5 separate regions of the Homo sapiens genome follow, and regions 1, 2, 3 and 4 are each linked to region 5. Evidence: promoter capture Hi-C in 16 types of primary human blood cells and fetal thymus (Javierre and others, 2016). All regions are on one chromosome and are shown on one strand. The core of a region is centred on a gene start or on the middle of the fragment in contact, and the rest is flanking DNA. Distances in the headings are between cores, read along the strand shown. Region 1 overlaps DOCK4 (dedicator of cytokinesis 4). Region 2 overlaps ZNF277 (zinc finger protein 277). Region 3 overlaps DOCK4 (dedicator of cytokinesis 4). Region 4 has its middle 47 kb from the start of IFRD1. Region 5 holds the start of SAMTOR (S-adenosylmethionine sensor upstream of mTORC1).

Region 1 (6,147 bases), core at 2,837-5,336, 750 kb after region 5:
GGTTAGCAGTCATTGTCATGGTGAAGTGTGGATAGATCTGAGAGATATTTAGGAAATGAAAGCAACAGGTTTGGTCATCAGATATGAGGAGTTAAAGTAAGGAAGGAGTTTAGGATGTTGTCTTAGCTCAGGATACTATAACAAATATAGACTGGATAGTTTAAACAAAAGAAATTTGTTTCTCACAGTTCCGCAGGCTAGGAAGTCCAAGATCAAGGTGTTGGCTGAGTCAGTTCCTGGTGAGGGCCTTCTTCCTGGTTTGCAGGTGGACATCTTCTTGCTGTATCTTCACGTGGGTAGGGGGAAGGGGTCATGGGGAGGAAAGGAAGCAAGCTTTCTCTCATCTCTTCTTATAAGGTCACGAATCCCATCATGAAGGCTCCCCCTCATGGCCTAATTACCTCCCCAAGTCCCCCATCTCCAAATACCATCACATTGAGGATTACAGTTTCAATATGTGAATTTTGGGGGCATATAAACGTGATTTATAGCAGATGTCTTCCTGTTTTTGGCTTGGGTGCCTGGATGAATACAGGTGCCATTCAACAAAAGAACCAACTTTTTTTTTTTTTTTTTTTTTCTAGGCAGGTCAGGCTTATGTAAGATGAAGATTTTTGTTTGGCCACCTTGAGTTTGAGATACCTGCAATTTTTGAGATACCTGCAAAACATTCAGGTGATGAGGTCTAGTAGAAAGTGAGTCTGCACCAAAAAAGAGAAGTTCTGTGCTGAAGAGTGTGATTAAAGATTATTTGGCTTAGGAGTGAAGGCTGAAGTAATGAGTCTAAATGAGACTTCGCTAATTGCTTTGACTTTGATTATGTATAGTCTGCCTGTTCATTCTAAGTTTTAACATGACAGACCCCAAATTTCAAACAGCAGTCATCTCGAGGCATTTTATTAATATGGGTACAAAGGATTCTCAAGTAAGAAATATTAGCTGTCCATTTAGAGTTGGTCGTAAACTACATTTTACAGTCTTTTCTTGCTTCCCTCTAGGGCGTTGCCTAGCTAAGGCATTAGTTATTTCTATGTCTGTGACAGTCTTCTCCCAAACAAATATTTCATGCCAGATTGTGCACGTTTGTGAGATTTCCCAGTAAGGATGTTGAAAAACAGAGTGCACGAATAATATTTCAATGAACAAGATTTATACATCCCTGAAACAGCATTTAAGAACACGCACCCATCTAAAAATGGAAAAATGCTTCAATATATAAAGCAATAGATTTGTACATACAGTTTTTTTTTTTTTTGGTAAATATATAATACCTCTTAGGAACCACAAGAATTCTTAAAGTTATACTATGGCACTCCTGAAAAATAAGTGACTTAAAGGAAGGAATTCTAGCTTATGATGGCACTAGGTTCCCTTCCCCTCATGTAGGCTCTCCTAACTAATCAGTGAAATAACAATAAATTCACAGAAAGAGGCAAACATTAATAATACTGAAAACTAAGTCTGACAGAACGTCTGTTGGCAAAATTCACGTGAAATTTCCCTAAGGCAGGTGGAACTGGTTGAAGAAAACCAATGTTTTCTTGGTTTTCAGTGGTACGGCGTGGTGATTATAGTTAACAATAATGTATACTTGAAATTTGCTAAGAGAATAGATTTAAGTATTCTCACTACAGGAAAAAAAGGGAACTGTGTGAGGTGCTAGATAGTTAATTAGTTTGATTGTGGTAATCATTTCACAATGTATGTGTGTATATTTAAGGTGATATCAACATCAGTTTGTACAACTTAAATATATACAATTTGTATTAGTTAACAATACCTCAATAAAGCTGGATTAAAAAGAGAAAAAAACCTATTGGTGGCTTCTTTTGGCTTTCCCTTATTAAACAGAGAGGCCTCAATGACTGGAAAGATGACAGGAAGACCCATTGCCCCTTCCCCACTCTCTGTCACCAGCTTAGAGACCAGGTCAATACATCCAACTTGGAGCACGCCATTTACTGCCGGAAGCATCTGTAATCCTTCTCTTTTCACCCCATCTTTTTAATTCTGTTGAGAGATGACCACTCTCAGAAACGAGCAGGACAGGAAGGTGGGTAGGTGGGTGGAAAGGGGTCTATAGAAGATGCCACTTCACCATTGAGAAGTGTACTGTGGTCTTCATAAGGACAGTGATTTTGTAGTTGCTTTGAAAGTATTGCAATAACAAAGCTTACTGGATAGTGTAGTTTTTCTGGCAGGGTATTGGTGACAGAGAAGGAGGTAGGGGGATAAGAGATGATTTCATCTGAATTGCCCTAAAACCGTGGTACATGGTATATAATAACTTACAACTGGGAACCTGGCTTGGAGCTGTACACATCAACTAGCCTTGAACGCAGATCTGAAAGTGGAATTGAACCCATACCTTTATTTTTAGCTCAGTCCTTCGCGTTGTAGAGAGGTTCGAGATCCAGGTTGCCTTAATCAGTGATCACATTTGCATCTCTATGGAAGCGGGAAGGCAACTAAATCTGGACAGGCATCTGTCACTTAGCAATGAACGAAAACATGGCTGTTTCTCAAGAAAACGGGAGAGTGAGGAAGAGGGGAGAGCATGACATTTACATGGGAGGCTTTTGGAAACTACTAACACATGTGTATTTGTTCTCCTCCCCCATTTGTGCCCCCTCGTGGGAGGGTGGTTGGTGAGAACCCTTCTGGATATGAAATTTGTAAGTTTTCCTGGTTGAATTTGCTAACAACTTATCTCCCAAGTTGTGAAACATTTTCCTAAACCAAGAAATTTGCTGTTTATTAGACTATCAATTGGACATTAACCAAAAATTTCTCCCTGAAGTCTTTAAGCAGAAACGTGGAGATTTGGTTCTATGTCTTATTTTTTTTTTTCTCCAAAATGGAATAATCTCATCCGTTGTTGGCAACCAGAAGTAGGCAGGTTTGGGAACGTGGGGATGCATGTACATAAGGCAACCGAAAATAGCCCCAACCGAGATCCTGGATGAAACATTATTCACTTTGTGGGGAGAGGAGAGAACCTGTTCTCCATTCTCCTCTGGTAGCCAAAGTTGGTTGAGGAGCTTGTAAAGCTGCCTTGATAACAGGCTCAGGGGTTAGCCAGGGTCTCAAAGAAATACGAAAACCCAAAACATCAACAGGCAGTTCTATAAAGAATGAAGAGAGAAGAAACCTCTGAGGTTTTCTCCAGTAGTCTGGATGAAAAACATTAAGATCTGAGGATTCCTAAAAAATTGCACACATAGTAAAGGTTTGCCCCTTCTCCAGTTTGTTTGCTAGTTTGTTTATTTTTTGAGATGGAGTCTCATTCTGTTGCCCAGGCTGGAGTGCAGTGGCACAATTTTGGCTCACTACAACCTCTGCTTCCCAGGTTCAGGTGATTCTCCTGTCTCAGCCTCCCGAGTAGCTGGGATTATAGGTGCCCACCACTGTGCCCAGCAAAGTTTTGTATTTTTAGTAGAGATGGGGTTTCACCATGTTGACCAGGCTGGTCTCGAACTCCTGACCTCAGGTGATCTGCCCACCTTGGCCTCCCAAAGGGATGGAATTACATGCGTGAGCCACTGCGCCCAGCCTCCAGTTTGTTTTTTTAGGAGAACTATATTTGTATTAATTGTATGTAAAATCTCCATTAATACTCTCATCCATAGTTATAGAAATTGATTCAGAAGACTAAATATTTATGTTCTTTGCCCCAGGTTAGGCAATATCATGTATACACTATGTAGAAATTATTGTAATGAGTTTTAAAATGGGAAAATACTTATCAGAGGTGAAGAATTGGCATACACATTACCTGTAATGTTCTTACAACCAATTATTATAATTGAGGAGATGGCTTATTTTTAATTTCATACTTTCTAGTAATTTCTTAAATTAGCATACATTTCTTTTATAATCAGAAAATCATTATGTAAGTTCTTCTATAAGCCAAACATTATTTCCTTTGTGAGGTTTCCTTTCAGGATTAGAGGTTGGACTGGTAGAAGTTGAGTCTGGACAGCCTGAATTTAGTTTGTCATTTATGTGCAGAAAGTACTGTGTTTCAAAATTTTAAAGTAGCTTTCCTTGTTATATGAGTTTGACTGCCTGTGATGTCACTGCTGTGTTCATTTTCCAGTATCCACAGTGAAGATGTGTTTTCATATAGCTGTGGGGTCTAAGCCTTTGAAAGGGAGCTCTAATTGCTCTTTTAATTTGTTGAAACAGCTTCAGATGAATTCACCTAAGGTAAAAATTCTGCTCTCTCCATGAAATGTTTGCTTAGAAGACTGATGTTGGTGTCACTGCTCACTTTTCCTTTGTTCTATAAACTCTGTCCTGTTGGACTATGGACCCAGGGATAATTTGTGCAGGACAGACCTTTCAACATAGAGAGTCAACAATTTGAAGAGGTTTTATTTAGCAATTACAGAATAATAGGAATAATTGCTTATTTATGGGTGCTATAAACTGAATGTTTGTATTCCTTCAAAATTCATATGTTGAAGCCCTAACTCCCAATATGGATATATATGGAGTAAGGAGGTTACTAAGATTAAATGAGGTCATAAGGGTGGGGCCCTGATCTGACAGGATTTGTGTCTTTATAAGAAGAGATCCTGGAGAGCTCACATGCTCTCTTCATAGGTAGCATGAGAAAGGGCCATGTGAGGGTGCAGCAAGAAGGTGGCAGTCTGCAAGCCAGGAAGAGAGTCCTCACCAGGAACTAGTCCTGCCAAACCTTGATTTGGGACTTCCATGCTTTAGAACACCGAGCCTGTGGTACTTTATATGGCAGCCCAAGCAGAAGGGTTAAAGACATTTTAGGGATTGTAGGAAGAGGGATATAAAAAAAGTAGAAGCAGGATCCTCAACCTCAGTGTAATCAATGTAGTTAGTGTTGGCTCTCTCTGTGATTTGAGATCTGACTCTGCAGGCCCACCTCTGGAGGCACAGACTTAATTGAGCTAGAATTTTTTTTTTTTTTTTTTAAGGCATGGTCTGGCTCTGTCGCTCAGGCTGGAATGCAGTGGTGTGATCATGGCTCACTGCAGCCTTGATCTCTCAGGCTGAAGTGATCCTCCTGCCTCAGCCTTCTCAGTAGTTGGGACTATAGGCATGCACCACCACACCTGGCTATTTTTATTTTCATTTTTTGTAGAAACAGGGTCTCACTATTTTGCTCAGGCTGGTCTTGAACTCCTGGGCTCAAGTGATCCTCCTGCCTTAGCCTCTCAAAGTGCTAGGATTACAAGTATAAACGACTGCACCCATTTGAGTTAGATTTTTTGATGGTAGATATCGACTAGTAACTCCAGGTATCTGTTTATTTGAATAATGGCATTTTTGCAAAGTTGCTCACATTGTCTTGAGTTGTCACATCACTTTGGGTGCCTTCAAAGCAACCAAAAGAGGTAGAGTCTTCAGATGCTTCATTTCTTTTTGCTACAGTTTTTTATAAAAACCTAGGGTGACAGGTTTAATCATATAGGTTAGCATTTTTAAAAAGTAGATGGAAGTTTTATTATATGAAACTTTGGTTGGGGCATTGGGTTAGGAGTACTTTGTTTTTGAAAGTCCTGGCTGTTGAATATCAGGTCCCTGAAGAGAATGAAGCAATATTTGGAGGAATTTCTTTTCTTTTTCTACTATCCTTAAGTATGTGTTTCCTGAGAGTAGCTAGTACCTTCCTCTAAAGATTTACTTGTTGCATTTTTTTTTCTTAGTGACAAGCATAAGGGCATATTTTACGACATGTTGGTAGAAAAACTTCTGTTGGATGATTATTTATGGTATATGCCTATGATGTATAAGGCAATATGCTAGCTTGATAAGCATCCAAAGAGATATAGAACTGGATGACTGGACAAGTGAAGGAGCTAGAAATGTTTCATAGTTTTATCTCATTTACTTTGAACAACATTTCTTCAAGATAGATGTTACCCTGATTTTGTTTTTAAATACACAGTAAGGGAGTACATAAAGTATCACAGATAAATCAGTGTGAAAGTTAAGACAGATATTTCCCCTTCAAGCTTTAAAATGAAGATAAGGACTTGGGATGGTGATGATATTATTCACTTGTGCACCTGAAGAAACAGCCCTGAGGAGGAAAGAGTGTCTCATATCCTGGAAGACTCAGAACTTCTACAAAAGAATAGAAGTTTCATATTGAGATACTTCCCA
Region 2 (6,225 bases), core at 1,112-3,611, 720 kb after region 5:
TGTTATCCCTAGGAACAACTGAGGAGGTTTAGAACCTTGTGGCCTCTAGCTGCATGACTACTAAACCATAATTTTTAATCTGGTGGTTAATTTAGTTAGTCCTGCAAAAGGCAGTCTACTCGCCAGGCAAGAAGCGGGTTTGTTTTGGGAAAGGGCTGTTATCTCTTTGTTTCAAAGTTAAACTATGAACTAAGCTCCTCCCAAAGTTAGTTCAGCCCATATCCAGGAATGAACACCGGCAGCTTGGAGGTTAGAAGCAAGATGGAGTCGGTTAGGTCAGACGTCTCTCACTACAATACTTTTCTGCTATAATTTTTGCAAAGGCAGTTTCAGTCTGCATAATCAAGTTCTAAGATCTGAGACAGTATGATCTACTTTCAATTTACATTTCCAGACTTCTTTTCCATTGCTGCCATTTACTTATCATTTTCTCTAGGCAAAATGTATTGACTTGATACTTGTTGTATATGCCCTTAGTTTTTCTATTGCTCCCTCCCTTTGTGTAGGCCTATAACACTTTTTCCTTGTTTCTGCATGTCCAAATATTATTAAACTTCAAGGCCCAGTACCACCTGTTGGGAATAATCTCTTTTTTGCATAACTCTATGTATATCACTCTAATGTTCCCCAGCACTTTCTACCTTGTAATATGTACTTCTTATATCCTCCCTATTAGGTCATAAGATCCTTGATGGCAAGACCAATGTTATTCTCATCTTTGTATTCTACAGCATTCAGAATAAAGAAGTTTGCACATAGCAGATGCTAAATAAAATTTTTGAATGAACGAAACCTCAGTTCTATCAGTAGCTCTTTCAGTTTTGCACTGTTTATTACAAATGGAAAGGAGAGTGAGATAGGATGCATCCTAATAATCAATCCATATTGTCTCAGAGTATAGGATCCCAGAAGACATCTACTGCAGTGGTTCTCAGCCAATTTTCTAACCTGATACACCTGATCAATGACACACACATGTGCAACTAATTCTTCAGGCCATATCCAGATTTTTCTTTTTCTTTTTACAGATGCTAGGACTGAATTATGTCGGCTCCCAAGCTGTAAACCTACCTCCTCTTTCTTTTACTGATATTTGGAAGATGGAGTTGAAAGGATGCTAACATAATCTCACTCCCTCATTTACAAACCAGGAAATCTTAACCAGGAGTGCTAATGACTTCTCTAAAATCACAGTCAGTCGGAAGGAGAAGTGGGATTAAAATCCTAGCGCTTTATGAGGCTGAGGTGGGCGGATCACTGAGCTCAGAAATTCGAGACCAGCCTTGGCAACATGGCGAAACCTCATCTATACAAAAAATACAAAATTTAGCTGCGCATGGTGGCACACACCTGTAGTATCAGCTACTCAGGAGGCTGAGGTGGGAGGATGGCTTGAGCCCAGGAAGCAGAGGTTGCAGTGAGCTGAGATCATGCCACTGCACTCCAGCCTGGGCAAAAGAGTGAGACCCTGTCTAAAAAACAAAAAACAAACAAAAACAAACAAAACCAAAAAAAACCTAGTTCTTCTGATTCCTTGTCCAGTGAGCTTTTTGCAAAGCTGTACTGTCTATGATCACTGCTGCTGGAAAAATAACTCAATGTCGCAGTACATTATTAGCATTACTTACCTTTGTGAGTGGATGCATATTTAAAGAGCATTCAAAAGTCATTCATAAACTGGTTTGAAAGAAATTCAAATAAGCCCGCAGACTCTCACCTTCCTTTCCTTCCCTTCTCCTCCTTCATTTGAGAAAATTAGTTGTACAGTGCCTTGGCAAAGACAGCTTGATTGATGTTATGTTACAGTTCAGCAACAGTTTCTGCTATTAATTGCTTTATAATGGTAATTACGATTAGCGGGTACAGGATATTTTCTTTTCTAATTGGCTATTACTGGTGAATAGCAGCTTATTACATAACAGAAGACTGTGTTAAATAACCACGATTACAATTCTGAGATCTTTACTAGTAAAAAAACAAACCTCTCTATTTGGATAAAAACACTAAAAAAAGTTTTTTAAAGGCAGGGCCTCTGTGATTACTTGCAGGGAGGGGAGAGTTCTTTCAGTTAAGAAAAAAACATGAAATGAGGACAGTATTAGAGAAACAAGGAGGCAAAACAAGAATTTCCTTTCTTTTAAAAATAAACACATGTAAAAGCTTTAGTATGCTCAGCGCCTCTGGCAAGGCATGCATATCACAGAATCAAATGTATCCACTTCATCCCACAGTGCTATATGGAACTAGAAGAGACTCTCTTATTAGCTCCGGTGAGACAGGGATGCAGAGCCCACCAACTACACTGAGATGTCCACATGGATAAGGCTAGGGGTTCTTCATTTGTATCCCATATAGAGCCCAGCATGGCGCTGATTCACAGTTGCCAAACACCACCAAATGCCATCACAACATGACACTGTCCCAGAGGATGAGGTTAAAGGTATATTTAACAGTTCCTGTCCTTACAGAGTTTATATATTGTATAATGTGGGATTTGTCTTGATTCCAGCTTTAATGTTCTTTGATTAGTTTGTAATCATTTTAAAGTTACATCCAAGCTTTTGTAGTAGTAGTAGCAGTAGCAGCAGCAGCAGCCATAATAGTAATAATGAGGTCCTATTACTTGCTGAAGGTCATACAGCTTTTAGCTGACAGCTCCTTTTGATTCCAGTTTATCCAAGTCTAAAGCTTGGGCTTGTACTCGCTACTGCCTCTTGAGACAGACTTTTATCAGTAGCATCATTTGTCCCTATATTTTCATAGTGCCTCAAGATTCATAGAGTGCTTTAACATACTCTGCCCTCACCACACCTCCCAATAATATCAACATCATTTTTTTTTTCCTGATGAAACTGAGGCTCAGAGAGGTTAAACGATTTTCCCCAAGTTCACACTGCTAAAAAGCTACAAATTCAGATTCAGAATCCAGGTCTTCTGACTCCTATTCCAGTTTTTCCTTCTACATATTTTACTGATTCAATACTGTACATTGATTATTTTAAATATGCTACTCATGGAGAAAGCTTAATACTATCCCACATTATCCTATAAAATTTTAAATATTTTACCACTTGTCAATTGTTGACTCCCTCTTTCCCAACCTCCCTTCACCCCATGAAGCAAAGGTTTAAATCCTGTTTAGCTCTAGAAAACTTTACTTGGTTCCTATAGCCAAAGATATCATTCAACCCCAGCTGCCTATGTTGCAAATAAATGCCACTAGTTACAAAGATGATCAGTGAGAAGTAAAGAAAAACAGAAGACTGATCAGTCAAATCTATCACCACTTCTGAAAAAAGCTGCCCTGCTCACCTTTGGGTCAAGTAGGTCAGTAGAACATACTTGTTTCAGCATGAGGTGGCAAGTCTTTAAGGTACTGTCAATGAAAAGCCAACTCATTCAGAGTCTGATAAGTTTATCAAATAAGTCAAAACTGAACCCTAATTTTGTGGCAAAGTTCTCTAAGAAGAGCTAATAGAAACATTTGAAGATTTAATCACTGGAGACAGCAGTTTATGCACATTGCTTGTTTCTATATACTCGTGATTTATATTTAGAAGAGAGTATGATTTCTATTATATGAATCTGATCGACATCCTCTTTACAGTTTTTCCAGATGGAAGTGTATGAGTGTGTATTGTAAAGGGCAGCACTATTCTTTTGCATGAATGGGAAGGTCAAGGTCAACACAATAAGTGTATGTAATTCGGTATCTGACCCATCAAATCCCTCAATAATAACCTGCTCTTCAAGTGCAGAAGACATATTAAAACCACTTGTATCACTTCTGGCACATATGCCAAAGATGTGCCTATACCTATGACTGAAATAACAGTCACAATTGAAGACCAGACTATTATATCATCTCACCTAATCATTTCCACATCCCAGCAATATAGATACAGTATTACTCATTTTACAGAAGAGAAACTGAAGTTCAGAGGTTTACCAGAATCTGATCCTAAGCTGGCCTGATTTTAAAATCTTTTCACTATTCCATACTGCCTTTCTATGGTAACATTGGCTTTAGAGCATATTTATGTGTAAGAAAAGTCTGTTTCAGACCTCATTCAATGGAATTTAGTTACTATGAGACATCATTACAACCGTGCATAGGATAAAAGTCTTTTCTCAGTTATTGTGTGACTTTGGGCAAGCTACTCTTTTCATCAGTTTCCTCATTTGTACATAAAAAGCGTAATATGACTACCTAGGGGTTGCTATGAAGATGAAATGAGATAATACCTATAAAAGCATTTGAAACAGTATCTGGCACAGTTAGTGCTCAAAAAAATGTTAGCTATCATACACATCATCATTATTATATCCCTTTTAATAAGAGCTCTTCTCTAAATATCCTACAAGTTGGGTCCCATTGATTTGTCATAGGAAAATAAAAGAATGCTTTAAATAAGGCCTCTTCAGAACCTTATACAAAATGTATTAGTCCATTTTCATGCTGCTGATAAAGACATACCCGAGACTGGGCAATTTACAAAAGAAAGAGGTTTTAATTGGACTTAGAGTTTCACATGGCTGGGGAAGCCTCACAATCATGGTGGAAGGCAAGGAAGAGCAAGTCACGTCTCACATGGATGGCAGCAAAGAGAGAGCTTGTGCAGGAAAACTCTTCTTTTTAAAACCATCAGATCTCATGAGACTTATTCACTATCATGAGAACAGCACAGGAAAGACCTGCCCCTATGATTCAATTATCTCCCACCAGGTCCCTCCCACAACACATGGGAATTCAAGATGAGATTTGGGTGGGGACACAGCCAAACCATGTCACCAAACAAGACCTACAAGAGTAGTTTCTATAATTCTTATCTTCTCTGACATCCCACGGCCTATACCTTGTGAGGCAACCCCAGTATACAATGTTACTTGAGTTTCTTGATGACTTTGAGTGTCAATGTGTGTGTGTGCGGGTGGGGAGCTGGGTGTGAGTAGAGTAGCACTGTATAGAAGTGAGAGAGGATACAGAAGATAATATAAAGGCTTGCAGAGCACATAGTTGTAATACTAGTATGTAGCACCAACAGACACTCTGACAACTCCCAAATTCCAGGAAAGCATTGACAGCATAAGCAGTTATCACCAACACATTCCTAAGCTTCCCCAGGGTTACTCCACAATTTAGATTGCTTCCTAAGTGAATACAGTATCAAAGAGCAGGCAGTTCTTGATAGAGCAGGCAGATCTTTATAATTGGGCCTATCTTTATAATGAAAGCAACTAATACTTACTGAGGTCTGACTTTATAACAGGAAATATGCTAGGCTTTCATAAATATATAAATATGAAATAATCACAATAACTGCAAGACAGGTATTATACGGATATTTTCATAAATGTGGCAGCACATATAATAAACCTATGTTACACAGCTTTTAAATGTCAGAATTGGAATTTAAATACCGTTTTGTCAAAATAAGGTCTAGTCCTCTTTCCATTGCCATGTCAAATATATGAGACTGGACTTAATGGTTTATAGAAATAGAATGACAGCCTGTAGAAAATTGGTAACAGCCATATAGATGATGAAAGACAGAATTCAAGGTCCATGTGGTAGGTCATTCAGTTACAGGCTTAAAGTTATAAAGGCCAGATCTAAAGTATTCTTTTAAAAAATGTAATTATTATTTAAACAACATTAAAACTTTATTTTAAAAAACTGAAATACTATCCTTAAATGCTAACTATGATCACCTTGACAGAATATCATCCTCCTGATATTTTGCATTTTAGTTGGTATGCATACCTTTCACAAGCATAAAACATCTATTCAGTTTTTTATTCTACTTCAGTTCCTCTGCTCAAAATAGTAGCCACTCTAAATGCCTTGAATAAATTTCAAGCATATTCTAACATTAGACTGTTATACAATGTTTACTGTATGCAGCTTTGATAAACACTGGATGTACAAAAGTGAAATAAGGCAACTCTTGACCTCAAGAAGTTCACTGTCCACTGGGGTAGACAAAGTTGCCAAAAAATAACTACAGTGTGACATGGTAAGTGGATAATGGAGATATGGGAAAGGAAGCAGGGTGACTGAAGATGAGGCTAGACAAGTAGATTAGAATCTTAAATGCCACACAGAGAGTTTGGACCTAATTATACATGTAGCAGAATTACACTGAAGATTTCAAGTGGAGATCCATGAATATATTTGTTTTACAATGTGGATTAAAGGAGGTAAAGTCAAGAGTCAGTGAGATC
Region 3 (5,681 bases), core at 140-2,639, 850 kb after region 5:
ATATTTAAATGGGCATGAACTGTGGTGAGCTAGTTTTTCTGGATTTCCCTTTCTGCCTTATTTATTGTGGAAATTTGTACACAAAGGTGTACAAAGATAACGTACTATATATTCATGTATTTTTTGAACTTCAAAAATTATCCACATTTTGCCAATCTTATCCATGTCTGATCTTTCTTTTTCCTGTAGTACATTTAAGCAAATCCTAAATATGGTGTTATATTACCTCAAAATACTCCAGTATACATTTCCGAGGATTTTTTTAACCAAATTGTCATGACATGTAACATAAGGAGTAATCATTTCAAGAATTAATATCCTATACAGCCAGCCCATATTACAATGTTTCAAGGATGTACTTGTTAGCTCCAGAGACTTGATTAGACTCTGGTCTGTTTATTTGCTTTTTTTGGCAAAAATGTCTCATAGCTGGGGCTGTGTCTTTTTTTCTGCAAGAGAGACTTGTTGTCTGCCTGTGCCTCTTCCAGGGACACTGCTGAAGATACCTAGATCAGCAAGTTCAAATGCTGTCAGCCCGATCCCATTTGAAAGTTCTCTATCAAGCTTTCCCTGATGGATTTAGCATCCATTGATGATCACTGTCAAGATCCATTATTTATCTTAGGAATTAGGAAAATCTTAGTTTTCTCATTGTGATTCTGTCATTTCTTGTACATTTATTGGGTGAATTCTTCCATAAAGAACTTCTACCCATCTGCTACTTGATTACCTTGAAATACACTTTTTACAGGAAAGGTAAGATAAATGCTTGATACTTTCTCCTTATTTATAACTTTTTGGAATCATAAATTTGTACCCTGGCAACCGGCAGTAATGAATCATTGAAATTTTCTCATTAGTATCATTATGAACTCATGAGTTTTTATATATTAGATGTCTTTCAATCTAGTGCATTTTTTTCCTCTTAAATTGCCCTATCTTAGGTCACTTTGACCTCTGTTTCTTTTTGACACAGCCAAATCAGTTTTTGATGGGCTATGGATTTAAAATCTCTAATCTTGTTTACTGGTTTATGAAAGATAATTTGAAATTGCTCTCTTGAGCATCCTGACCCTTTGATTCAAGCAAATATTGTGGGACTGAGGGGAAGCTATGAAGTTCTTTGCCAAATGTTACCATGTTAAATCTCTTCATTTTGAGGAGAAAAGATTAGAAGATGGCTTTGTGATATGATCTGTGTGGCAGTTTCTGATGTTGAAGTGAATATACTAGAACAATTTTCTCATAGAATGGGATATAGTAAGAGCACTGTTCTGAAGTCAGACAGCCCTCGCTCCAAATTCCTGCTTGACCACTTCCAAGCCATACAACTTGGCCAAGTAACTTATGTTCTGTATGTTTTAGTTTTTTCATTTTCTAAAGTACACATACATGGTAATAATACCTTCCTTTTGGAATAGTTGTGTGGTTAACTTGAAGTGATAATGGTGAAAACACCCAGCAGAAAGCCGGTCACACGGGAAGTGCCTTGTAATGGTAGCATAACAATGGTAACAAGTCATGTCACTGTGATTTGGCATTAAATCTGGATATCTGTTACTTCACTCTGTACAAACATGAAGGGAGATTTTCTAAGAAAACAAGGATTTTCTTTCGTTTTCATTATGCATGTCTTGAAATTTCCTGCATTGCTCTATTTGTGGGAACTGAAACATTTTCTCAGCCCAAGCATCATGTGACTGTTTCTTATTGCTAGTCAGCAGCATGAAACCTCAGATGAAAGTATATTAACTGAGGGTCTGGTAGAACTGTTCAGCAAAGCTAAGCAGACTTTATTTAAAGAAAATGCTCATTCCCTTTTGCTGGACACACAACTTCTAAGATCCATGTATCATGCTGCTAAGTAGTGGCTTTGGGATGCTCTCTGTATAAATGAAATTTTCTAGTCAGCTGAAATTCAAACACTAAACATTCAAATATTTTAGTAGCTGCTGATATAAATTGTACTGAAATGTAATGGTTTTAAGCGGAAGCAATTTAAACATCTTTTCACTTTTTCTTTATGATTGCATCAGTCAGCTGTTGCTCCATAAAAATCAATTCCACAACTCAGTGGCTTAAACTAATTTTCATTCATTCTCACTCTCTGTGATAGAGATTGGCTGGGCATGTTCTGGGCCAGGCCTGACGGCATGACTCTACTTCATGCTGCAGGCCTGTCTGGGTTTAGGTCCTCACTGTGGATTAAGCTTAGGTCTGTTCCAGAAATGTTTATTTTGAGGGCCCAGTCTGAAGGAAGCAAACCAGCGAAGCTATTCCTATGGTCGTGGTAGGAGTACAAGAGTGTTAGCCCAACTGTGCAAGCGCACTTCAGCTGTCAACTGGAATCACATCTGATTCCATTCCGTTGGTCAAAGTAAGTCAATCACTAAGCCTAACAGCAGAGCAGGGAAGTATACTTATTCCATGAGGTGGTTAGGGAAAAGTGATTATTTGCCAAATACCAATCTAATTTACCGTACTAAACTAAGCCTTTGGTATGATCCTCTAACAAGGTTCCATACTATATGTAGTTATTATTCATATCTTTAATATCCCTGCCATCAGTTCTGACTTTTCATCTTGTTCATTCTGTGCCACGGAAAACCATGTCTTTTAAAAATTGTGTTCAGGTAAAGATAAATTCTACATGAAGATTTTAAGGCCTTCTGGGGAGTGAAGCTTTGTTTTCATAGCTATTTTGGATGTTTGGTGGCCTTTTATTTTATTTTATTTTATTTACCTTAATCATTTTGTTCCAAAAAGAATTAGAGATGTTGCCAGAAATTTGACTTCTGGGTATGAGGGGTTAAGCTCAACATGTAAAGATAAAAACTTCTAGGAAACAGAGGTTAATTCATTATGTTATAGTAACTGGGTCATACGTTATACTATTAATTCTATATTTTATATTCTAATCTTATATCTATAACCAACTCACAGAACAACTAGGGGAAAATTACCTAATCTCTAGGTACTTTTATGTAAAACCAATGGAGATGATAGATGTGAGAGCCTGAGGCAATTGTGATGGTATTCACATATCAAATAAAATTATTTTCAACTATGTTAAGATCATATTAATAAAAAATTCTACTGATTCCTAATTCATAATTAATCTGCCTAAACTACATTGAAATTTACTTTACCTTAGTGCAATTTATGGATAAAGGGATTATTTATAAAATTTATGTTGTGAACCCTCTGAAAAGAAGTACATTATTAAAATTAGAATATTTATTTGGGGCTACAATTAATGCTAATTATAATTAGTGCTAATTTCAAGTGTGCTTAATCTATTCAAAAAGTAGACCCAGTGGACTTTAAATTGACCATCTCCATAATACATTAAAAGTAATAAAGTGGTTTTTATTTAAATACATTCTAGAATAAATGATACTTTAATTTAAAATTTATTTCTAGCTAAGTCATATGGGTAGGATTTTACCAAGTTTAAAAAATTATATATTTTTCAGATACATGAATAGCACTACCAATCTCAGTTGTTTCTGATATAAAATGTCTCAGCAAGTACTGTGGTGATTAGTATTTCTCTCTCCTTTCTCTTTTTCTATATAGTAAACTATAAGCCTTAAATCGTTAAGTGTAATGTAATCTGAGGAGAGAGAGTGAGTTGACTACTATCCATAAATACCTCTACATCTCCTTTAGTCGAGGGTTTAATATTAACAATACATTCTCTGTAGGCTTTTCCGGTTTCTTACAGGAAGAGAAAAATAATTTTGTAGCGAACAACAATTACGAAATTTATTTGATTTGCTGGGAAATCCCAGCGTGCCTATGGGTTGCCAATCCTATTATCCCCCAGTAAAGGAGTAGGGAAGGTAGATTTTGTACCACAGCAACCACCCCCGCTATTTCTAGCCATTCTTCCTTTTTTTCTCTGGCTTTCCTGTGAAATTACCAACTTCCTACCTGGCTTGCTGCTAATTGTTCAGACCCACAAATGGGGGCATGGTGATGGCTGTTGTTTCCTCTACTGACATTACAATAATGTATGAGACTCTCAGGGTTAACTGTGTATTTGAGATTTCACTAAGCATGATTGCATTAACATAGATTTCCTCTCCAGTCATGACACAAATTTTTAAAAAGTTTTTCAGGTTCAATATTTCATTACTACTGTTCCCTCTGCATCTACCCTTCCTACCATTTACTATGTGTCTATTCCATGACAGGTGCGGAGCTAAGAACTCTACATGTATAATGTCATGTAATTCCCCACGCCTCTCCAGCGTAGGTACTCTGATGACATCCATTTGTCACATGAGTATTCTGAGGCTGGGAGAACCTTCAGTGACTTGCCCAATTTGTCACAGAGCTGGTAAGAGGCAGAGCAGGGCCCCAACCCAAGTCTGTCTCTGGACTCATGAGCACTAGGAGATCTTGCGCATTACTCTGTGATCTTCCTCTTTTGGTCTTCACATTTTATACTGTGATACCTTAGATAGTTTTCCCTCTTTTTATTCTTGAGCCCCAGATCCAATTTACCATCTTTCTTTTTGACCCCTTCAAGAGAACAGCTACAAATAAATTATTTAATTTAATCAGCATTTATTAAACATCAGCTGTGTGTGGAGTATTGACGGGCACTGGAACTACCAAGATTTGTTTATTTTTCTGTCTACAAAACATTTGAGATAACTGACAAAGTACGTAAAATAAGAAAGGGATAAAAATAAGTTGCAAGACCTTTAAGACATAGTGACTTTCCTCCTGGGATCTTTCTAGAAGAATCCCACTTGAGAGTGGTTCTTCATGTTCTTGTTTTGTCTCCTTGACCTGCTCTGTGGGACATAATGAGTGTTCATCTGCACTTTTCGTGTCAGGCTTCCCTCAAGGACTCTGTCCTCACCCTGAGTCTGGGATGAAAGCCACCCTGATTTGTGACTGTAATAACCAGCTTCTCCTAAAAAGTTGGTGGTGTTAGGGATATCTTCACATGGATTGTCTTGTTTCCATGTGAAATAGTGTCTTAGAGCCCTGAGAAGTAGCTGTCATGTGGAAACGGAGTCATGCTTGCCTGCATTCTGTGTGTCTCCTCCAAACCTCACTACTTCCTTGAATTGCCCACAGGATTCGCATTCCTGTCTGACTGCGGGTTCCTTCTTCCTGTTTCGATTCTTTTTTCATGGGCTTTTTGCACCACTACCCGCCTTCCTGTCTCAGTATTTTTGTTGCTGGCTCATCCTTCTTGTCTTCTCAGATGTCAGCCTCCTATCCGTGGCCTGTGGGCTACTTGGCGGACCCTCTAGAAATGTACCTCGACAGTTGTTCATGTCTTTTAACAATTTCTTTTATATTGTTGAGCAGATGGAACAATTATTTAAGTCTATTTTCATTCCTCATACCCCACAAATCTACACAAGTGTTTAGTGACATAAGTGTAAATATTATTGAAACATCAAAATATCTTGCTGTCTGCATCCAGTTGCTAGTTCACAGCATTCAGGTGACAGTGGCTGTATTTGTAGAGCCTGAGGAAAATGACATAAGATGTTTTCTTTGACAGTGGTTGTCTTACGTATTTGGATATACCCATTGTGTAAATATGCGTTGAACGAAGGAGCTGTGTCATCCACATCTAACAGAGGTGAAAACAAAAGTCTACCATAAGGTCTGTCTGCCTTTAGCCAAATGGGAAGTGATGTTTCTGCACA
Region 4 (5,668 bases), core at 3,139-5,638, 540 kb after region 5:
AAGCAGGCTGTTGGGGTCAGGTTGCTATAATTTGGGCGGGTGGTCCAGGTCTGTGAGAAACAGAAGCTCCACAGGCCTTAATATTTGTGGGGCTTAGGGCCAGAGTAAAAATTATTCTTTATTCTTGTTTCAAAATATTTTATTAAAATTCAAAGGAAAATACTAATTATAATGAATGATTACAAAAAATGTTTATTGTGGTAAAAACATAATGTGAAATTTACCATCTTAACCATTTTGAAGTGTACTATACAGTAGTGTTAACTGTATGCATCTTGTCCAACAGCTCCCTGGAACTTCTTCATCTTGCAAAACCAAAACTCTATATCCATTGAACAAAAACTACCCTTTTCCCCCTCCTTCCAGCCCCTGGCAACCACCATTCTACTTCCTATTTCTAACAGTCTGCCTGCTTTAGATGCCTCATATCAGTGGAATCACGCAGTATTTGTCTTTTTGTGACTGGCTTATTTCATTTAGCATAATGTTCTCAAGGTTCATCTATGTTGTAGCATGATTACCCAAATTTTAAATCAAACTTATGTAAATCAACTTGATGTTTTAATTTAGTTTTTTGAAAATATTATGAAACCTCATTAAATATATTTATAAAAGTAAAATTACTCACAATTTTTACAAGCCATGAAGGTGGGCCCCTCAGAGCCCCCTTCAAAGAGAAAAATGGCCATGAAGTGTGCAGCTATCTACAGTCTTGAGCTACAGAGACCTTAGGATTTACCTGTGTGTTCAAGCTGAGGCTTGAACTCTTCCCAGGGAGCTATTGGAGGCTGCAAGGCAGAGGTAAGAGAACTGAGCCATTTCTGCTCAATACAGGACTCTTCTACTGGCAGTCTTTGTGCCTGAGCTCCCTGCTGGGCTGGCCAACACTTTTTCAGAGATGTGTTGCAGTCTGAGGGTCCTCTACCCCAATTCCCCTCCTTCCCTCTCTCCATTCACAAGTGTCAGACACTTGTGGTCTGAAGGCTTCTCATGCCCACTCCTCTTCCCTCCTCCCTTTATCTTTCATGAGCATTTCCCAAAGAAATCTCTTGCAGTTCTGACTCTGTCTTGCCATGTGCATTCTGGAAAACCCAAACTGGTACAATGTTCTAGCATTCTGTTTCCATTTAGTTGACAATGTGAAGAATTCATATTGCACTTTGCTCATGTTACAACAGGCCTACATATATACAAGTTTTTTTAAGTAATATGAATTGATACTACAAAATATTCCTTGGCCACCATATACAATTTTTGTGAATACTGTGCTCTGGAACCACAGATGGGAACATGAGGAGAAGCAAGAACATGGACACTTGGCACTACTGAAAAATATTTTATTGTGCAATAATCTATTGCATTCAGGTTATCTGAGAGGAAGCATTCAACATGTTAATTGATTTTATCTTCTCTTTTCTAAGTATTTCTGCTACTCAAATTCTCACAACAAAGGTTCTTAAAAGTACAATTCTATATTTATTTTGATTTCATCATAAAAAGTCCACTACCAGCCAAGATGGAGTAACAGAAACCATATTTACCCACTCACCTTAAACAATTAGGAAAAAATGGACAAAATAAATGAAACAATTTTACATATTGGAGAACAGGCAGCAGGGCCTTGCTCTCTGAGAGAAAAAAAAAAAACCCTAAAAAGGGAGCCCTACAGTTGCACCAGTTTACTCACTGGAGGCAGTTTCTAGGCTGCAGTACAAAAAGGGGAAACTCAAACAGACCCCAAAAGTCTTGCTGTGTTGCAAAGCAGGTATTGTCCAAGGCAAGAAGAATTTTTAAGACAAATTACCAAAAAAGAGGGAGCTTCTGAAAGAGAACAAGCAAGCTACAGAGGAGTATGCTCAAGTATTTGGCTGAGTACTACTCTATGTGTGTGAAAGGAAACTACCCAAGGCCAGCAAAGGAACCACTGGAAATGAGAAGGCCTAACAATTCCAAGAGCTCACACAGGGCTGAGAATGGTTTGTGTTGCACAAGCCTGAGTGGAAAGGTTCTGCACGACATGGGCACTGGATAGAGTCTTCAAAAGTATTCCACCTTAGTTGGAGGGCTAAATTATCCTAGACTGAATACAGCTCTGGACCTGCCCTAACAAAGATTATAAGAAAGATTTGAAAGAATCCAATTGATTCTAAGTTACCATGTGCCAGAAGAAAATGTAACACTATTTAAAGGAATACAGCAAAATCAGATCTTCAAAAATGTTCAATATCCAATCATCAATTTTTTTTTTTTTTTTTTTTTTTTGAGATGGAGTCTCGCTGTGTCGCCCAGGCTGGAGTGCAGTAGCACGATCTCAGCTCACTGCAAGCTCCGCCTCCCGAGTTCATGCCATTCTCCTGCCTCAGCCTCCCAAGTAGCTGGGTCTACCGGCACCCACCACCACGCCCAGCTAATTTTTTGTATTTTTTAGTAGAGACGGGGTTTCACCGTGTTAGCCAGGATGGTCTTGATTTCCTGACCTTGTGATCCACCCGCCTCAGCCTCCCAAAGTGCTGGGATTACAGGTGTGAGCCACCGCGCCCGGCCCCAATCATAAATTATTAGCATGCAAAGAAGCAGGAAAATATTATCTATAACCAGAAGAAAAACTATGCATGAAGCACAGAGAGAAAAAAGACTAAGAAATACACACAGCATCAGTGACTGTGAGCAATATTAGGGATTCTAGCATGTGTGTAACTGGGGCTTATATTACACATGTTAGAAAAAATACGGGGATATTTGATGATACGATGATCAAATTTTTTCCGAATTTGATGAAAACTGTAAACTCACAGAATCTCCACAAACCCCAAGCAAAACATAAATTCAGAAAATAATGCCAAGACAAATTATAGAACATTATGTACAAAGAACAAAGATAAAAATGACAGCAAACTTCTAACCAGAAATCATGTAAGCTGGAAGAGGCTGGAACAGTATCTTTAGAGTACTGACAGAATAAACTTTCAAGCTAGAATCATTTACCCAAAGAGAATATCAGATAATGAAAAGCTAAGAGAATTCATTGCCAGTGAATTTATAAAAGAAATATTAAGTGAAGCTTTACAGGCATAAAGAAAATAATATTCATTGGTTTTAGCAAAGCATATCTTCTATGAATTGATATAAACTCCTAGAGATTAAAGTCATACACACATCTCTTACATTTTAGAAGGTATGTATAACAGCCCAATTTTGCCAAATAAACAATAAACTCAATTCTCACCTGTAAAATTGACTTTCTGTTCATTAGTTTAAAGAATTCGGAGAAGCAGAAATTAGTTTACTATTTAATTCACTGAAAGAGAGTCTACTAGATGAAATACATTGAACCTATGAAAATAGTATGTAGATTTTATAGGATCAGTACCTGCAAGTAGGTCATAAAGCCTGACCTGATACTAAGCATTTTCTAGGATATTATCACCAAATTTCTAAACTCACAGGGTCTCACTTTGTTAACAATCTGATATTAGCTGCTATGTAAAAACAAAATAATTTATTATAACCAAGACCATCTGCCAAATGATCATTTCCAAAATATAAAACTCCAATACCATTGTTGTAAGAAGTGTTTATGATAACTCCTAATGATCCTTGCTGCCTGATATTCATGCCCTTCTGTAATACCTTCTTTGAGTGTGGGCTGGACTTATTGGCTCACTTCTAATGAATAGAATATGGCAGAGGCTGGCTGCAGTGGCTCAAGCCTGTAATCCCAGCACTTTGGGAGGCCGAAGCAGGTGGCATGGTGAAACCCCTTCTCTACTAAAAATACAAAAATTAGCCGGGCATGGTGGCATGTGCCTGTTATCATGGCTACTCAGAGGCTGAAGTAGGAGAATCGCTTGAAACCCAGAGGCAGAGGCTGTAGTGAGCCAAGATTGTGCCACTGCACTCCAGCCTGGGTGACAGAGCGAGACTCAGTCTCAAAAAAAAAAAAGAATATGGCAAAAATTATAACATGTCACTTTTGAGATTAAGTCATAAAAAAGACTGGCTTCTATTTGACTTCTCTCCTCTCCTCCTTCTCCTCTCTCTTTCTCTCTCTGTCTCTTTTTCTCTCTTATCACTGGGTGTATGGAAAGTCAGCTGCCATGTCATGGGTCAGCCCTATGGAAAAACCCAACTGGCAAGAAATTGAGGGCTGCAAACAACCACATGAGTGATCTTCGGAGCAGACCCCAATGTCACTACCAGTTGAGCTGTTAGATAAGACCACAGCCCCAGTTGATAGCTTGATTGTAACCTTGAGAGATACTTTGAGCCAGAGGCACTCAACTGAGCTGTGCTTGGATTCCTGATTCATAGGAATTATTTTAAGCCTCTAAGGGTTAGGGTAATTTATTACACAGCAATACATAACTAATATAGCTATTATTCAGTAGTTTAAATACTTATTCATGAAAAAATATTGATGACTCTTTCCACATAATATAGGGGAAAATAATTCTACTTGCTACTTTGTGCACTATGTATTTTTACGGATCAGCCAACAGACCAACATGTGGCAAGCTATTACATGGAGATTGAAAATCTGGCACCATGAATTATTCAACCACTGTCTCCAATGAACGGTCTGACACAGAGGTTAGATTTACCAGGAACCAAAGTAACACCTGCAGTATCCAACTCTTGTTACCATTTTGTAATCTTGGAGAATTATTAGGTTCTTTGAAAAGTGTTCCAGAGTAGCATCTTTAATTGTGGATACCAGGTTCAAGTTAAACAACTTTCTGCCCACACAAATGTTAGAATTACATGATGACTTACTAATTCTCCCACTGAAAGAGCTGTACACAACCCTTTGACTATCTGGCTAAGATAGATCTTTGGGGACTAATAACCTAGGGCTCCCTGGGACCTAATAATTATATCAGACTAATATGTATATATAACTCTTTATATATATATATATATATATAACTCTTTATATATATATATAACTCTTTATATATACATATAAAACTCTAAATAACATCTATGCTGAAGCCATGAGACAAAGAAGATGATGATGAAAATAACATTGGTAGACAGTTTAAAGTTTATAATATTATACTATTTGTCATTCATAGTTTCATTTCTTTCCAAAAATCTTGTGTGCTTGTTATTATAAGCCCCTTTCACCATGCTACACTCTGCCTTGCACATAGGACAGAGTTTGATAACTCTAGAACAATTTGCCTCAGAGTAGTTGTTAACCTCCTAAACTGTGAAATGCCTACATAAAAAGTAAATCATTCCATCATAATGAGAAAAATCCTACTATCCTACTGCCTTCCCAACCTACCCTAGGCTGGAATTTGAGATTGTTTCTATTCCACACTGCTTAAGAAAATTTTTTTTAGTTGCTTTAATCTGGCTTAATGAGCTACATTCTCTGAGCCAATGGCTACCTTTCCTACCAACACCATAAACAAAACTGATCATATTTGTTAAGGGAAAAGGCAGTCCAATGACATGGTAATGAGTCCTGACTGTGGAATGTTCATCTCCTGCAGAAATTTATGGCCCCATTCACCACAGCATCATACGCCTCCTAGAAAAAGAAGCAGTACGTAGTTTATTCCTGTCTGGAAATTGATGTGTAGCCAGGGGTAGCATGTGCACATTCATATCTGCCTAAAGCAGGATGTAAAATGTGCCTATGAATCAAACATACTCTAGT
Region 5 (5,985 bases), core at 2,454-4,953:
CTCTTCTACAGCAACACTCAAGAGGGTCAGAATGAAATGTACAACACTTTTACAAAGCACACCCAGAATCTACGGGTTACCTCAGTGCCTCATCCCAGATTTTGATATGGATTTTTAAGTTGACTTTTCATCACCCATTAATTTTTTCAAACTCACACTGGGAATAGAACATATTTTATTACTGCAATATGTTGACTCTTTACACCCTTTGTAGGAATTTGTGTTACTTATAAAGAATATAACTGTAAACAAAGATGACAAGGTATTTTTCTCACCAAAAACATTTTTTCTGTACTGAGTGGTTCTTGAACAAAGGAAGCTTACTTGACCTACCTAATGTGTAAGGAATTAGGTACAGAAGCTGGTTAGGTAAGGCAAAGAATGAGGATGAGAAATTTACTTATCAGGGGTTTAGAGCGGTCATTAGAAAAGCCTCTACTTCCCAGACTGGTTTGTCCTGCTCAGTGAAGAGTGTTTTATTCCAACATCCTCTTTCCCTAACAGGCATTTAAAATAATGAGAGAATTTTTTAAAACAAGATATTTACAGTAAATAAAAACCTGTCACCACAAAGTGGGGAAAGTTGCTGACATTTTCCTGGGCATAGGATATGCTCATTGAATATGGCACCAAGCCTGCTTCCTTCAGTGAATCCATTTTATCAGCAATTAGGACTGTTGTTTCACTTAAATGGAGAATTCCATTATGACTCCTCAGCAACCTTAACAGATAGAAAGCTTTTTGTAATATTGCTAACTACACAGGAGGAAAGTAGTTATAAACTCCCTTTTGTGCTGTGGTGGATAGTCAGTGGAAAAAAAATCACCTTAAAATATTTCTCAGGACATGTTGGCCTATACCTCATTTGAATTCACGCATCTTTAAAATAAAATCTGTGCCTGGCGCCGTGGCTCACGCCTGTAATCCCAGCACTTTGGGAGGCCAAGGTGGGTGGATCACCTGAGGTCGGGAGTTTGAGACTGGCCTGACCAATATGGAGAAACCCCGTCTCTACTATAAATACAGAATTAGCCGGGCATGGTGGCGCATGCCTGTAATCCCACCTACTCGGGAGGCTGAGGCAGGAGAATCGTTTGAACCTAGGAGGCGGAGGTTGCAGTGAGCCGAGAATGCGCCACTGCACTCCAGCCTGGGCAACAAGAGTGAAACTCCATCTCAAAATAAAATAAAATAAAATAAAATAAAATAAAATAAAATAAATCTTATTTTTATTTTTAAAATAAAATCTTTATTTTATAATAAAAAATTTAAAATTTTTTAAATGAAAATTTTAAATAAAACATTTTTTAAATAAAAAATTTAAAGAAAATAAAAAGATTTCATTTTCTTTAAAATAAAATCTGGCTGTCCAATTGTTATTTCTTCGGTTGCTTTTCAAGAAAGTGTGAAGTCAAAAAGTAATTTTAAAAGGTAGGACTCTTCAATCTGCTTGAACAACAACAACTAGATAGTCTTAAATAAGTTCCTTTTATTTATTCTTACGTTGGTATTTTAAGTTAAATATTATACCAATAAGAATAGCTAGTTACGAAACAGCAGGAAATTCCACATATTTATTTAAAAAATAGACATGTTTTTAAAATCTCATTAATGACTTTGTAAATTGTAATACCTACCTTTGGTAAGGGTGCAATGAAATAAACACCCATAGGTACTAGTGGACATGGCATAAACTGCTACTATCTTTCAGAAAAGGCAATTTCATAATATACATCAAAACCCTAACATGTTTGACCCTTTGCTTCAGAAATTGAACTTTTAGGAATTTAGCCTGATGGAATGTATAATTAAAGAAATGGACAAATACTTGTGTGCAAATGTGTTTGTCATGACATTATCTGTAATACAAAAAAGCTGGAAAAAACATAAATCTACAATAACTGGGAATTGGTTAATGAAATAGTAGGCTATTCATACAATAGATTGCCACATAGGCATCAAGAAATATCCTATTTGAAATTAGTATATACAAACAAAGAAAAAATGTTAAGTTGTTATCTCTCAGTCCAGATGTCTTATTTTCTTTACTCTTTTCTGTATTTTCCAAATTTCCTTCAGTGAACATCTTCAGTTAAGAGGCCTTAAAAGTTCATTTGCTAGTATTATGCTGAAAAGTTCTTTTTTAAAAAATAAAACTACAGTTCAGCACAAGTGAAATTTAATGCTCTTTTTACTATCATTGTATCTTTCGAATATCTGCACCATTATTTGCCTTCCATATGTATTAAAATATGGAAAGAGCCAAAAGAGACATGTAATTCAAGCTCCCCTTTCTTCCCAAATGAAATTCCCCCAAATAAGACCACCATATTTTCAATTTATTAGGCACTTCCGCTTAACTTCTCTTCATAATTATAAGGAGTTCTTTTGAAGTTTATATGTCCTTGTCTTTGTGTTTGATCTGTCTCTTCACTGTGCTGTAGGGACACATCTTCCGCCTTTAAATTCCATCAATCTCCCTTCACCTCCCGCTTCTCCTGTGTCCTAGACAGTGTGTATAATTCTTTGCTCTTCAGCGTATTCAATATAAAGAAGGTAGCATATAAAACAGTTACATAATGCAAGCTTTATTCGTAGTTAGAAAATCATTATCAAAATGTTACCATTGCAATCATTTCCATAGACTGTCACGTAACCAACACCTGCAATGGGGAAGTGGTACACAATCCAACACAACTCATTAGGGGCTCTCAGTCTATTCAATCTCTGACACTCCAGCAGCCTCAGTACCACTTCAGGAGCCAATGCAGTCTACCTCTCTCCAGAGAGCAGTGTTCCACCTTTCTGGGACAGAAGTCAACAATCGCGTTCCCCAAGAGATGGAAAAGAAGTGGAGGAGGGTGAACAGGTTACCAAACCCACTTAGATACACTCCGCATAGACTAACTCTCCAAATTAAAGGACAGGAGGTCACCTGAGCTGACCATAAAAGCTCAGAGTGCTGATGCGAATAAGATCAGGGAAGGCTGCTTATTAACACCGTGGTCACTACAAAAGTTCTTGAGGGCATCTGCTGTGAGTTTTCCATCGTTCCTTATTGTCCTCCTGCATCTCCTGTTGCTTTTCTTGGCCCTCTCCTTTTCGCATTTTCTATGTCCTTTGCCCAGCAGTAGTACTGCAGGCATAAACCATTGTCGACCTGAGAATTAAATTAGCATTTGGTAGCCAGACCTCTCCTTGAGCCTTAGAATGCTTGTGTGCTTGAGGTCCCTGAAGTGTAACGTCATCTCAAAGCGCAAGTAACTAAAGGGAACCTACATGTGACAAGGTGCAGCGGAGGTTCAAGCAGAGCACCCTGGCCGCATCGCAACAGATTATAAAGTGTAGGGGATGAAAATGATGGAAGACATCAGAAAGCCGAGCTGTAAAAAAGCCCAAACTAAGCAAACTGAGACGCGCAAGCGCGTTGCTCACAGCTCGTCTCCCGAGGCCGAGCCACAGCGCCTGCGCACAGAATCCGGGGAGGGTGGGGAAGAGATGAGCACCCAGGCCTGGAGCTCCCACTGCCTCAGCCTCCCTATCCCCGCAAGCTCCGCCTCCTCCAGCTGCTCGCCTTCCCAAACAACCGGGTTCGCCGCCGGCGCTTTCTGCCCATTGGCCCTTAGCCTTTTCCGTTTCCGCCCAGCCCTCAAAATCCACCAATCAGTTTGCACTTTTGGGTGAGGGTCCACCTCCAAGGCTGTCGCTCCGGTTCCTCTGCCTCCTCTGGCTGCTGCCTCCGCAGCTCCCTCCTCCTACCCCACCTCCTCCATCTGGGGAGCGTCTGCGGGGGCCTGAGGGGCGGCGGCGGCGGCGGCGGCTGCGATATGGAGCCAGGGGCCGGCGGCCGAAATACTGCTCGTGCGCAGAGGGCCGGGTCCCCGAACACTCCGCCGCCCCGGGAGCAGGAGCGGAAACTGGAGCAGGAGAAGCTCTCCGGTGTGGTGAAGAGCGTCCACCGGCGGCTCCGCAAGAAGTACCGAGAAGGTAAACAGCGCGCTGAGTGAGGGAGGAAGGGGAGGCCTCATCACCCCCAACCGCTTGTCACCTCTTCCCTCCTCCAAAGAGGCCACCATTAAAATGTAAAGGATCTGCACGTCCCCCCAGCCGCTGCTGCTCTCCCGGGCCTGGTCTGAGCCCCCTAGTCGGCATCAGACGCGCTCCTCCCCGCCCCCTTTTCTTTGAGGGCCCTTCGGGAGAGTTCTAGGCCTGTAAAGGAATTGAGTCCCCACCCCCTCCAAGCCCCTGTCCCCAGCCGGGGTGCTGAGGTTGTTGTCTCGGCACACACAAACACATACACGCTCACAGAGGAGGTGGGGGTCGCTTTTTGCAAGAGACGCCGAGGTAAAACAAGACAGGTAAAATCCATTTGTAAAAGACGAAAAGAAACCTGAGTTGTCCCTCCTTTACGCTTGACCTACCGGCTGTACCATTTGCTTCCTTATCAGACCCCCTTCCTAGTACTTCATTCCTACAACCATGCCGAGCCTTCCTCGCATTGGCTTCCAGGGCTGGGAAGCCAGCAGGCCTTTTAGCTGACTGGACTTCACATTGTTAAAAGGGGGCGGGCTACACTCGTGGCCCCCACTCCCATTTCTTAAATACTTGGTCTTAACTGTTTATTTAGGCGATGAGGAAGAGATCTGGGCAGGTTCTGAAAATACCGTTTGTATTGGAAGCCTCCTAAAGACACCTGCCGATAAAGCCCACCCTCGGCTTCCATGGATGGGGTTCCGGTGAGAACCCCCTCTGTGGAAGCTCATAGGGGAAGAAGCCTTAGTGGCTTTTGCCTGTGCCTGAAGAGTGTTTATAGTTGGAGTCTACAGTTATCCTTGATATCTTTAAATATAGGCTTTTGTACACAGCTGTTTTATAAGATTTTGACAGTGAAAATTCTGTTTTCATAGGCTTGGGAGAGAGACTTCTCCTGAGTATCGAAATGAGGAAAGCTTTCCACTGGTTCTCATTTTAGCTTAATTGCAAACTGAAAAGTCAGCAGCCTTCTGGTGTTAGTCCTATACTTAGTTAATAATTTAGGATTAGAAGGAAAATTATGGCAGTGAAGGAATACAGACAGGTAAGATCATGTTACTGTTGATTTATACACACGTTTCAACTACTCTAGAAAGTTAAAACTAAGTATCCTTTGTTCTTTTGAATGTAGTTGATATGTTTCATTTTTCAAACTTTAAAGGTTTCTTTCCTTAGCAAATCAAGCTTAGCTTTTAATAGAGGCTGTTTAATCATCCCCAAATGGGGCTTGTAGTTATTGTTTAACAGATAGCAATAGAAAGAGTCTTATCAGACCTACTTAGGATGGTAAAATATGTTTTTTGAAAGAATGCTACCCAAACCCACAATTTAGTCAATAAAATGAGTAGTTACCATAGCAACAACTGCATCATTCTTGATATTCAAAGAATGCTCTTACATAATGGAATTCACTGTAGATTTTATGTTATTTGGAGAGATTAGGAAATAAATGGACACATTTTCCTGCAATTTATCCTGCTATTTTGTACAAATTTAAGTGCATCTTTCTAAAGAGAAAAATGACTAGCATAGAATTCCATTTCTATTTTTACCTTTTAATAATTTCATTATTCATTTATTCATAAATGAATAGGTTCCACTCAAATTAACACACTAATGTGGCATCTCTTCAAGTGCTGTTTATATGTGCTTAGTTCCCACATGTTTAACCATGTTTTAAGCCTGAGTATTAACCACAGGAACTCTTGTTTATGAGAATCGGAAGTTACCAGATCTAGAATAGATACATGGAGTTCATAAGTGAATGATCTAGTATGCTTCTGGGGAGTTAAAGTCCTGGCAGTTTAAACATTTGAATGAGACTATTCTTTAGGCGCTTTAATACCCTGAATTTCACCGGTGATCTAGACTTCTCTAGGCTTTGCTTGAATGATATACAAAGCCCCATCAGTGAATTAGCAGAATAAGTGATCCTAATGAGCATGCTCCTTC

The links. Contacts are between HindIII fragments. The CHiCAGO score rates a contact against its expected background, and 5 or more counts as called.
Region 1: a contact is called between a fragment that was not itself captured here and the fragment with the promoter of SAMTOR in region 5, in 3 of 17 cell types (neutrophils, non-activated CD4 T cells and fetal thymus). The highest score is 7.5, in neutrophils.
Region 2: a fragment that was not itself captured here is called in contact with the fragment with the promoter of SAMTOR in region 5 in 5 of 17 cell types (non-activated CD4 T cells, naive CD8 T cells, naive CD4 T cells and 2 more); the score reaches 8.5 in non-activated CD4 T cells.
Region 3: a contact is called between a fragment that was not itself captured here and the fragment with the promoter of SAMTOR in region 5, in 1 of 17 cell types (monocytes). The highest score is 5.9, in monocytes.
Region 4: a contact is called between a fragment that was not itself captured here and the fragment with the promoter of SAMTOR in region 5, in 2 of 17 cell types (non-activated CD4 T cells and total CD4 T cells). The highest score is 5.5, in non-activated CD4 T cells.

The regions. Positions count from the first base shown.
Region 1 is chr7:112,192,404-112,198,550 of GRCh38, reverse strand. The region is part of intron 1 of DOCK4 (dedicator of cytokinesis 4); the gene reads left to right. Among named protein-coding and RNA genes, the nearest start is that of DOCK4, 11 kb to the left of the region's middle. The HindIII fragment of the contact is 3,824 bases long and covers 2,175-5,998 here.
Region 2 is chr7:112,211,578-112,217,802 of GRCh38, reverse strand. The region is part of intron 1 of ZNF277 (zinc finger protein 277); the gene reads right to left. Among named protein-coding and RNA genes, the nearest start is that of ZNF277, 8.0 kb to the right of the region's middle. The HindIII fragment of the contact is 398 bases long and covers 2,163-2,560 here.
Region 3 is chr7:112,080,618-112,086,298 of GRCh38, reverse strand. The region is part of intron 1 of DOCK4 (dedicator of cytokinesis 4); the gene reads left to right. Among named protein-coding and RNA genes, the nearest start is that of DOCK4, 120 kb to the left of the region's middle. RefSeq lists an enhancer at 1,711-1,810. The HindIII fragment of the contact is 1,646 bases long and covers 567-2,212 here.
Region 4 is chr7:112,400,196-112,405,863 of GRCh38, reverse strand. No RefSeq gene overlaps it. Among named protein-coding and RNA genes, the nearest start is that of IFRD1, 47 kb to the left of the region's middle. The HindIII fragment of the contact is 2,650 bases long and covers 3,064-5,668 here.
Region 5 is chr7:112,937,593-112,943,577 of GRCh38, reverse strand. SAMTOR (S-adenosylmethionine sensor upstream of mTORC1) reads left to right here and starts at 3,703. Exons shown (of 5, transcript NM_152556.3): 1 at 3,703-3,987. The coding sequence starts at 3,828. RefSeq lists enhancers at 3,235-3,574, 3,229-3,745 and a silencer at 3,775-3,874. The HindIII fragment of the contact is 2,363 bases long and covers 2,589-4,951 here.